3 separate regions of the Homo sapiens genome follow, and all the other regions are linked to region 3. Evidence: promoter capture Hi-C in 16 types of primary human blood cells and fetal thymus (Javierre and others, 2016). All regions are on one chromosome and are shown on one strand. The core of a region is centred on a gene start or on the middle of the fragment in contact, and the rest is flanking DNA. Distances in the headings are between cores, read along the strand shown. Region 1 has its middle 5.1 kb from the start of IFNAR2. Region 2 overlaps TMEM50B (transmembrane protein 50B). Region 3 holds the start of IFNAR1 (interferon alpha and beta receptor subunit 1).

The links. Contacts are between HindIII fragments. The CHiCAGO score rates a contact against its expected background, and 5 or more counts as called.
Region 1: a contact is called between a fragment that was not itself captured here and the fragment with the promoter of IFNAR1 in region 3, in 4 of 17 cell types (total B cells, activated CD4 T cells, neutrophils and 1 more). The highest score is 6.1, in total B cells.
Region 2: a contact is called between a fragment that was not itself captured here and the fragment with the promoter of IFNAR1 in region 3, in 1 of 17 cell types (total B cells). The highest score is 6.5, in total B cells.

The regions. Positions count from the first base shown.
Region 1 is chr21:33,223,420-33,226,270 of GRCh38, reverse strand. No RefSeq gene overlaps it. Among named protein-coding and RNA genes, the nearest start is that of IFNAR2, 5.1 kb to the left of the region's middle. The HindIII fragment of the contact is 4,332 bases long and covers 1-2,851 here.
Region 2 is chr21:33,449,924-33,452,707 of GRCh38, reverse strand. TMEM50B (transmembrane protein 50B) reads left to right here. Exons shown (of 7, transcript NM_006134.7): 7 at 1,845-2,784. The coding sequence ends at 1,890. Among named protein-coding and RNA genes, the nearest start is that of TMEM50B, 29 kb to the left of the region's middle. The HindIII fragment of the contact is 2,657 bases long and covers 68-2,724 here.
Region 3 is chr21:33,323,501-33,326,233 of GRCh38, reverse strand. IFNAR1 (interferon alpha and beta receptor subunit 1) reads right to left here and starts at 1,264. Exons shown (of 11, transcript NM_000629.3): 1 at 1,103-1,264. The coding sequence starts at 1,178. RefSeq lists cis regulatory regions at 1,275, 1,332-1,341, 1,832, enhancers at 436-1,337, 1,571-1,620, 1,841-2,050, 1,338-2,240 and promoters at 1,253-1,923, 1,277-2,560. The HindIII fragment of the contact is 6,325 bases long and covers 345-2,733 here.

The DNA.
Region 1 (2,851 bases), core at 124-2,623, 100 kb after region 3:
GCCCCTTTCTCCCATACCTTGTCCTAGGTATCTCTTCCACTTGGCTGTTCCTGAATTGTATCTTTTATATAAACCGGTAATAGTAAGTAAAGTGCTTTCCTGAGTTCTGTGAGTAGCTGTAGGGATTCTGTAGATGTTCTTTATCAGGTTGAGAATAATTGTCCAAATAATAATAGCAGCAACATATTGGTTGATTATAGCTTATGAATAAGTGAAATGTATAATAACAATGTTATAAGGGTTGAGAGGGAGAAATTGGGGATACTCTTTTCTAAGATACTTGTGTACTACCCATGAATTAGTGTATTGTTATTTGAAAATGGACTTAGATTAGTTATAATGTATATTGCAAACTCTAGGGCAGTCACTAAAGATTTGTTAAAAAGAAGTATAATTAATGTGATGGTTAATAGTGAGTTTCAACTTGATTGAATTGAAAGATGCAAAGTATTGTTCCTGGGTGTGTCTGTGAGGGTGTTGTCAAAGGAGATTAACATTTGAGTCAGTGGACTGGGAAAGGCAGACCCACCCTCAATCTGGGTGGGCACCATCTAATCAGCTGCCAGCATGGCCAGGATAAAAACAGGCAGAAGAAGGGGGAAAGGCTAGACTGGCTAAGTCTTCTGGCCTCCATCTTTCTCCCATGCTGGATGTTTCCTGCCCTCAAACATCAAATTCCAAGTTCTTCGGCTTTTAGACTCTTGGACTTCACTCCAGTGATCTGCCAGGGGCTCTCAGGCCTTTGGCCACAGACTGAAGGCTGCACTGTTGGCTTCCCTACTTTGAGCTTTTGGGACTTGGACTGGCTTTCCGGCTCCTCAACTTGCAGATGGCTGATCGTGGGACTTCACCTTGTGATCATGTGAATCAATTCTCCCAATAAACTCCCTTTCATATATACATCTGTCCTATTAGTTCTGTCCCTCTAGAGAATCCTGACTAATACAATTAATGTGCTAAGTGAGGGGAGAATGGAATCATATAAAATATTCAATTAAAACCAGAGAAGGGCTGGGCATGGTGGCTCACACCTGTAATCCCAGCACTTTGGGAGGCCGAGGGGGCGGATCACGAGGTCAGGAGATCAAGACCATCCTGGCTACCATGGTGAAACCCTGTCTCCACTAAACATACAAAAAATTAGCCAGGCGTGGTGGCAGGTGCCTGTAGTGCCAGCTACTCAGGAGGCTGAGGCAGGAGAATGGTGTGAACCCAGGAGGCAGAGCTTGTAGTGAGCCAAGATCGTGCCACTGCACTCCAGCCTGGGGACAGAGCCAGACTCCGTCTCAAAAGAAAAAAAAAAAACAAAAAAACAACAACAACAGAGAAGGCAGAAAAAGAGAAGGAAGAAAAACAATAACAGCAACAACAATAAACATAAAAAGAACAAGTGCATTGAATAGAAAACAGTTACAAATATGGGAGATATTAATCTAACTATCAATAGTATATTTAAGTGAATGGTCTAAGTGTACCAATTAAAAGACAGAGACTAATAGAGTGGATTTAAAAATAAATCAAGGGCCAACTATATATTGTCTACCAGAAACCCACTTTAAATATAGAGACACTGATAGATTACATTTTTAAAAATGCCAACCTGACCAACATAGTAAAACCAAAAAAACAAAAAACAAAAAAATTTTAGCTGGGTGTAGTGGCAGGTGCCTGTAGTCCTAGTTACTCAGGAGATTGAGGTGGGAGGATCACTTGAGCCCAGGAGTTCAAGGCTGTAGTGAGCTATGATTGTGCCACTGCACTCCAGGCTGGGCAACAGAGGCAGATCCAGTTTCAAAAAAAAAAGAAGAAAAATGGAGAAATATATGACATTCTAACATTAATCAAAAGAAAGCTGGAGTAGCTGTATTAATTTCAGGCAAGCAGATTTCGGAACAAAGAAAATTATCTGGGGTAAAAGACAATTATATAATGATAAGAAAGTCGGCTTTCCAAGAAAGCATAACAGTCCTTAGTGTATATGCACCCAACTCCAAAGTGTCTAAATATATGATGCAAAAATTAATAGAACTGCAAGGAGAAATAGACAAATCCATCATTACAGTTGGAGTTTTCAATATCTGTTTATCAGTAATTGACAGATTGAGCCAGCAGGGAGAGAATCAGTAAGGATATAGTTGAGATGACCAGCACCATCAATTAATTTGATCTAACTGGCATTTATAGAATATGTCATCTAACAGCAGCAGAATACCCATTCTCAAGTTCTTGTGAAACATTAATTAAAATAGACCACATTCTGGGCCATAAAACTCATGCTAACAAATTTGAAAGAATAGAAATCACACAAAATATACTATTAGATCTTATGGAATTAAACTTGAAATCAATAACAGATAGCTAGAAAAAGTCCCAAAATATTTGGAGATTAAACAATAAACTTGTAAATAACACATGGGTCAAAGAAGAAGACTTAGGAAGAATTGGAATATTTTAACTGAATAAAAATGAAAATAAAACATCAAAATTTGTGGAATAAAATGAAAGCAGTGCTTAGAGGAAAATGTATGGCATTAAATGAATACACAAGAAAAGAAGTGTAAACCAAAAAATATAGTTATAAGCAGCCCCTGCCCTCCCCCCAACCATCTGAATGGATCTGTCCTCTCTGCCAAGGGCATTCCAAAGTTAACCTGAAAAATTTGTTCAGGCCATGATGAAAGGTGGGGTCAGACATGCCTCATTATACCCTCTTCCCTTGTGGAATTCAGGAAAAGCTGACCAGCATTAATATCAACACAGACCTTAAGTCTGATAAGAAGCATTTACAATCTATCCTCTCTGAAGCCAGCTACTTGGAGGCTTCATCTGCGTGATAAAACCTTGGTGTCCA
Region 2 (2,784 bases), core at 147-2,646, 130 kb before region 3:
TTTGGGATGCAGTTAGGTGACTCAGAAACAATCAGAAACAATTTGATCCTTTTATGTCTCTTAAGCTTTGTTATAGGCAGGACCAGAGCAGCTGTAGCCCAGGACTGATTTGTCCCCCTACTAAGGCAGTCATACCCTTTGAGTGTTTCCACTCTCTGATGCTTCATGTATTCCGAGGTTTCTCTACTCGACTTGTGAGAGTATGAACTCTCTTCCAGCCTTGTGGTAGCTCTGGGACATGTTCTTTCCAGTGGTTCTTTCCTTCCCTTGGGTAGTTTCCTCTTATGTATAGACTCTTCAGTACTCAGCCACAGACTGAAGGAGCACCCCCTGCAGATCTCCTGCGTTCCCTCTGTGTGGCTGTCTGTACGCTGCATGGCAAACTCTAGCCATGTGGTCTCCCTCCACTCTCAGACCACCATGCTCTACCTGGATTTCGCCTTGTGGCCTTGACACTCCTGGTTTTGAAAGATGTTTGGCAGTTTCTGCTGTCTTATATGTCAAAGACATGTGACTGACAGCCTTCTGGGGATATGGTAAGTTGTTATGAAGACATTTTAGGCAGTCTTTAGAGATTAAGTTCAGATTCAACACTTTGTGGTGGTAGATGAATCCACTTAAATGACAATTGGATGAACAGAAACCTTGTATGCTCAGGTGGACATAGTTGACAGCTGTGTCATCTATGTGCTCTGCCCAGAGGCTGGCAAGTTATCAGGCAGCCTGTATGCTTCCTGTGTGCTGGACCTGTTCTAAGCTCTGGGGTACAACCTCTTTTATTTACATCTCTGGTCACTCCTCTGTTTTCCTTGCAAGCTGATCCTCCACTCCCTGCCTACTACCTTTTGAAGTCTCTTAAAGCTGTTCTTGGCCTTAAGAAACTCCTTGTTATTTTTCTGTCCCTGGGTGAACTCATGTGTACTTAGGACTCCAATTATTGCTTATATGCCAGTGAGTCACAGATGTCCCTTTCCAGGCCTAAACCGTATATCCAGATTCCTACTTCACATCCCTTCTTGGGTTGCTGACATTTCAAATCCAAAACATTTAGTATGCCCACAGCTCAACTCATGGCCCTGGAGTGTCCCATCTCTCTGCTCCCGCCTCCTTATCCTCTCTCACTTTGCCGAGATAATTCCCCCTCTTCTTTTGGATCTCAATTCAGTCACCACTCCTCAGGAAAACCTTTCCTGACCTCTCTAACTAGGTCTGATCCTTATGTTTCACTCTGAGGATACTGTGCACCTCTCATTTATAGCATTTTTTTATAGGTGGAATTTTATATTTATTTGATTGTCTCCTTATTAGACCCTTAGCTCCATTAGGGAGCAAGTTTGTCTGGACTCAGTCTCACCCCAGCACTTAGGTGCTTGGTACGTAGCCACTTTTCAGTGCACAATAATTATTTGTTGAAGGAATGAAGAATTGCAGCATGGTCTGTTGTAGGGTGCTTCAGTTACTGTAATTTAGATATGGTAGGCTCCTGGAGACATAAAATGGCCCTAATGCCTGTCACTATGAGAATGGTCTCTCTCCCTTTTTCTTTTGATTTATTGATTCATTTTTTTGTTTCTGAGTCATAGAGAAATGTCTCTTTTCCTTACAAGTTGCCTGTTAATAACTTCCCAGGCCTTAAGAAAGAATACAGTTATGCTTAGCCATCGTAGTTAACAGACTGCTTTACAAAATAAGCAAATTAAGACCAACACTGCCATGATGTCTAATTTAATTTTTAAAATTGATAGGAATCAGTGAAGTACCTGTCAAAGCATATTGAGAAAATGAATTCTGTGTTGCTTGTTCCATCGGTTTTTTCCTCATGATTTGTTTTCCTATCTTTCTAGCACTCTGATCTACAAATTTGGAAGAACCGAAGAGCTATGGACCTGAGATCACTTCTTAAGTCACATTTTCCTTTTGTTATATTCTGTTTGTAGATAGGTTTTTTATCTCTCAGTACACATTGCCAAATGGAGTAGATTGTACATTAAATGTTTTGTTTCTTTACATTTTTATGTTCTGAGTTTTGAAATAGTTTTATGAAATTTCTTTATTTTTCATTGCATAGACTGTTAATATGTATATAATACAAGACTATATGAATTGGATAATGAGTATCAGTTTTTTATTCCTGAGATTTAGAACTTGATCTACTCCCTGAGCCAGGGTTACATCATCTTGTCATTTTAGAAGTAACCACTCTTGTCTCTCTGGCTGGGCACGGTGGCTCATGCCTGTAATCCCAGCACTTTGGGAGGCCGAGGCGGGCCGATTGCTTGAGGTCAAGTGTTTGAGACCAGCCTGGCCAACATGGCGAAACCCCATCTACTAAAAATACAAAAATTAGCCAGGCATGGTGGTGGGTGCCTGTAATCCCAACTACCTAGGAGGCTGAGGCAGGAGAATCGCTTGAACCCGGGGGGCAGAGGTTGTAGTGAGCTGAGTTTGCGCCACTGCACTCTAGCCTGGGGGAGAAAGTGAAACTCCCTCTCAAAAAAAAGAAGGACCACTCTCAGTATCTGATTTCTGAAGATGTACAAAAAAATATAGCTTCATATATCTAGAATGAGCACTGAGCCATAAAAGGTTTTCAGCAAGTTGTAACTTATTTTGGCCTAAAAATGAGGTTTTTTTGGTAAAGAAAAAATATTTGTTCTTATGTATTGAAGAAGTGTACTTTTATATAATGATTTTTTAAATGCCCAAAGGACTAGTTTGAAAGCTTCTTTTAAAAAGAATTCCTCTAATATGACTTTATGTGAGAAGGGATAATACATGATCAAA
Region 3 (2,733 bases), core at 15-2,514:
CTCAAAAAAAAAAAAAAAAAAGTATAAATAAAAATGTCTTCCCATATTTTGGACAGTTTTCTTAGTCTTGGGTCCTAGAATTGCATTTACTAGTTTAAAAAGTATGACTATTTTTATGACTTCTGAAAGACTGAGCAACATTACAATCTCATTGAGATAACATTTCATTGAGTTTTGAACATGATTATTTCTTTGGGAAAAAAGTAGGTAGTTAAGTAAACCAAAAATAAAATTCTAAGCCCCCCAACAATGTGAATGGACCTCTCCTCTCAACAAATGGCATTCCAAAGTTAATCTGAAAAACTAGTTCAGGCCTTCCACACTGACCATGTCAATTACAAGCTTATCTTCTCAGGTGCAAAACAAAGTCAAGACTCCATCTACCCAGAGGCATCTGCATAACTGACTCCCTTTACTCTCTTTTTCTCTTCAAGACACTCATGGTATCTTAAAATACAGATTTCTTGGGCACTAACTAAATTCTCACAGAACTATTTGCCTTACTGCCTTCCTGCCCCACCTCCTGAAAACCTCTGGAAAACCAGTCACAGACGTGTTTGTGGCTCACGTTTTTCCCGGATGCGCCCTGAAGCAGGCTTAGTAAACCTCGAGAACTGACAATTATGCTTCAGTCACTCCGACTGTCATTTTTTATTGGCCTGTATGAATCCTGAGGGCAGAGAAATCCTGGCCACACTTAGCTCACTCCCCCGTGGGACTGGGCGCCTATTCACCAGATTGAGGAAATGCATTTCGGGAAATGTTTTGTTTATTATCAAACAGACCAGCGGAGCCGCGGTACTTTCCCGGAAAGAATCAAACTCGACACAAAGCTCTGGCACCGCCATTTCACGGGGGTGGGACCCGGGCGCTCCCGAGGACCCGTACACGGCCACAGGCAAGCGGCAAGAGAGGACCCAGAACACCACTTTCTCCTGGTTGATTTGCGAGCCCAGGTCGGGTTTAATCTTTGGCGCGGCAAAGTGGACCGAAGGTTTCCCAGACTGGGCGTCTGTCGCCCCCAACAGCATCGCCGCCCCCGTAGCCCAGCTGCGTGCCCTACCTCCCGCCCTGCGCCAAGACTCTCCTCCCCGCCTCTCACCTGCGGCTGCGGACAACACCCATGGCGCCACGGCGACGAGCACTAGGGTCGTCGCGCCCAGGAGGACGACCATCATCTGGGAGCCGCCGCAGATCCCACCAGTTACATGTTCGCGCACGCGCAGCTCCTCTCAGCCGCCATCGCCCCGTCCTAAGTCACACCGCCCCTCTGCACACGCGCTGCCCCTCTTAGCTCTCACCGCCCCTCTACGCACGCGCCGCCTCTTCTGACACACACACCGCCCCTCCGCGCACGCGCCGTTCCTCCACGCACGCGCCTTTCCTCCTAGCTAGCACCCCTTCTCCAAGCTCCCATTGCCCCATCCTAATTGCAGCACCCCTGTGCGCGCGCGCCTTAGAAATCGCAGGCCTCCTGCATTCTCTTCTTCCTCACTCTTTCCGGCCTATGGCCGGTCTGGAGCACTTCACCATCGCATTCCAGGACGACTCCCCCTCACAGGAGGCCTTGACCTTCACAGGATCGCGGCACACACCTGCGCAGACCCAGCGACTTTGGAGTTCCCGCGTCTCTTCCCCATGTCTGCAGTCGGAGGGCGCGGGTGGGCTCCTGGTCGCGGCCCGGCGCTCTTCGTCCTCGCCCTTCTCCGCCCGGGGCGCTTGCTGACCCTAGAGTCTTGGACAGTGGCGTTGGGAGTCCCCAGCGGCCTGGGAACCAGATGAGGCTGGAAGGAGGAAGTGGCTGAGCGACCAGACCGTTGCTGTGTGCAGAGCGAGAGCGGGGCAGAGGCGGTCGAGCGCTCGTTTTCCGGGCGACTTGGCTGAGGGGCGAGATGGTCCCTTGGAGAGAACAGCCACGGGCCCTGGGCCGAGGGGCTCCAAACAGCAGTCGCTAGGCTGTTTTGGTCGTCGGGCTTTATCAGTAAACAATTCGAGCCCATGGTTCGAATGATTATTTAATTAAATTCCTCAGTAATAGATCCAGTGCATTGTGAAAATATGCGAAATAAAATTTAAATGATGAGATAAAATAAGGAATCAAATACTTCGTTGTTATAACAACCAAGCAATTAATTAGCAATTACATAATTAAATGAATGTTTGTAAAGAACAATGCAATGGAATATATATGTATTCCATCTATATATTCCATCTCTATATTCCATCTATATATTCCATCTCTATATCCCATCACTATATTCCATCTCTATATCCCATCTCTATATTCCATCTCTATATCCCATCTCTATATTCCATCTCTATATCCCATCTCTATATCCCATCTCTATATTCCATCTCTATATTCCATATCTATTCCATCTCTATATTCCATATCTATTCCATCTCTATATTCCATATCTATTCCATCTCTATATCCCATCTCTATATTCCATCACTATATCCCATCTCTATATCCCATCTCTATATCCCATCTCTATATCCCATCTCTATATCCCATCTCTATATCCCATCTCTATATTCCATCTCTATATTCCATCTCTATTCCATCTCTATATTCCATATCTATTCCATCTCTATATTCCATATCTATTCCATCTCTATATTCCATCTCTATATTCCATCTCTATATGCCATCTCTATATGCCATATATATTCCATCTCTATATGCCATATATATTCCATCTCTATATGCCATATATATTCCATCTCTAT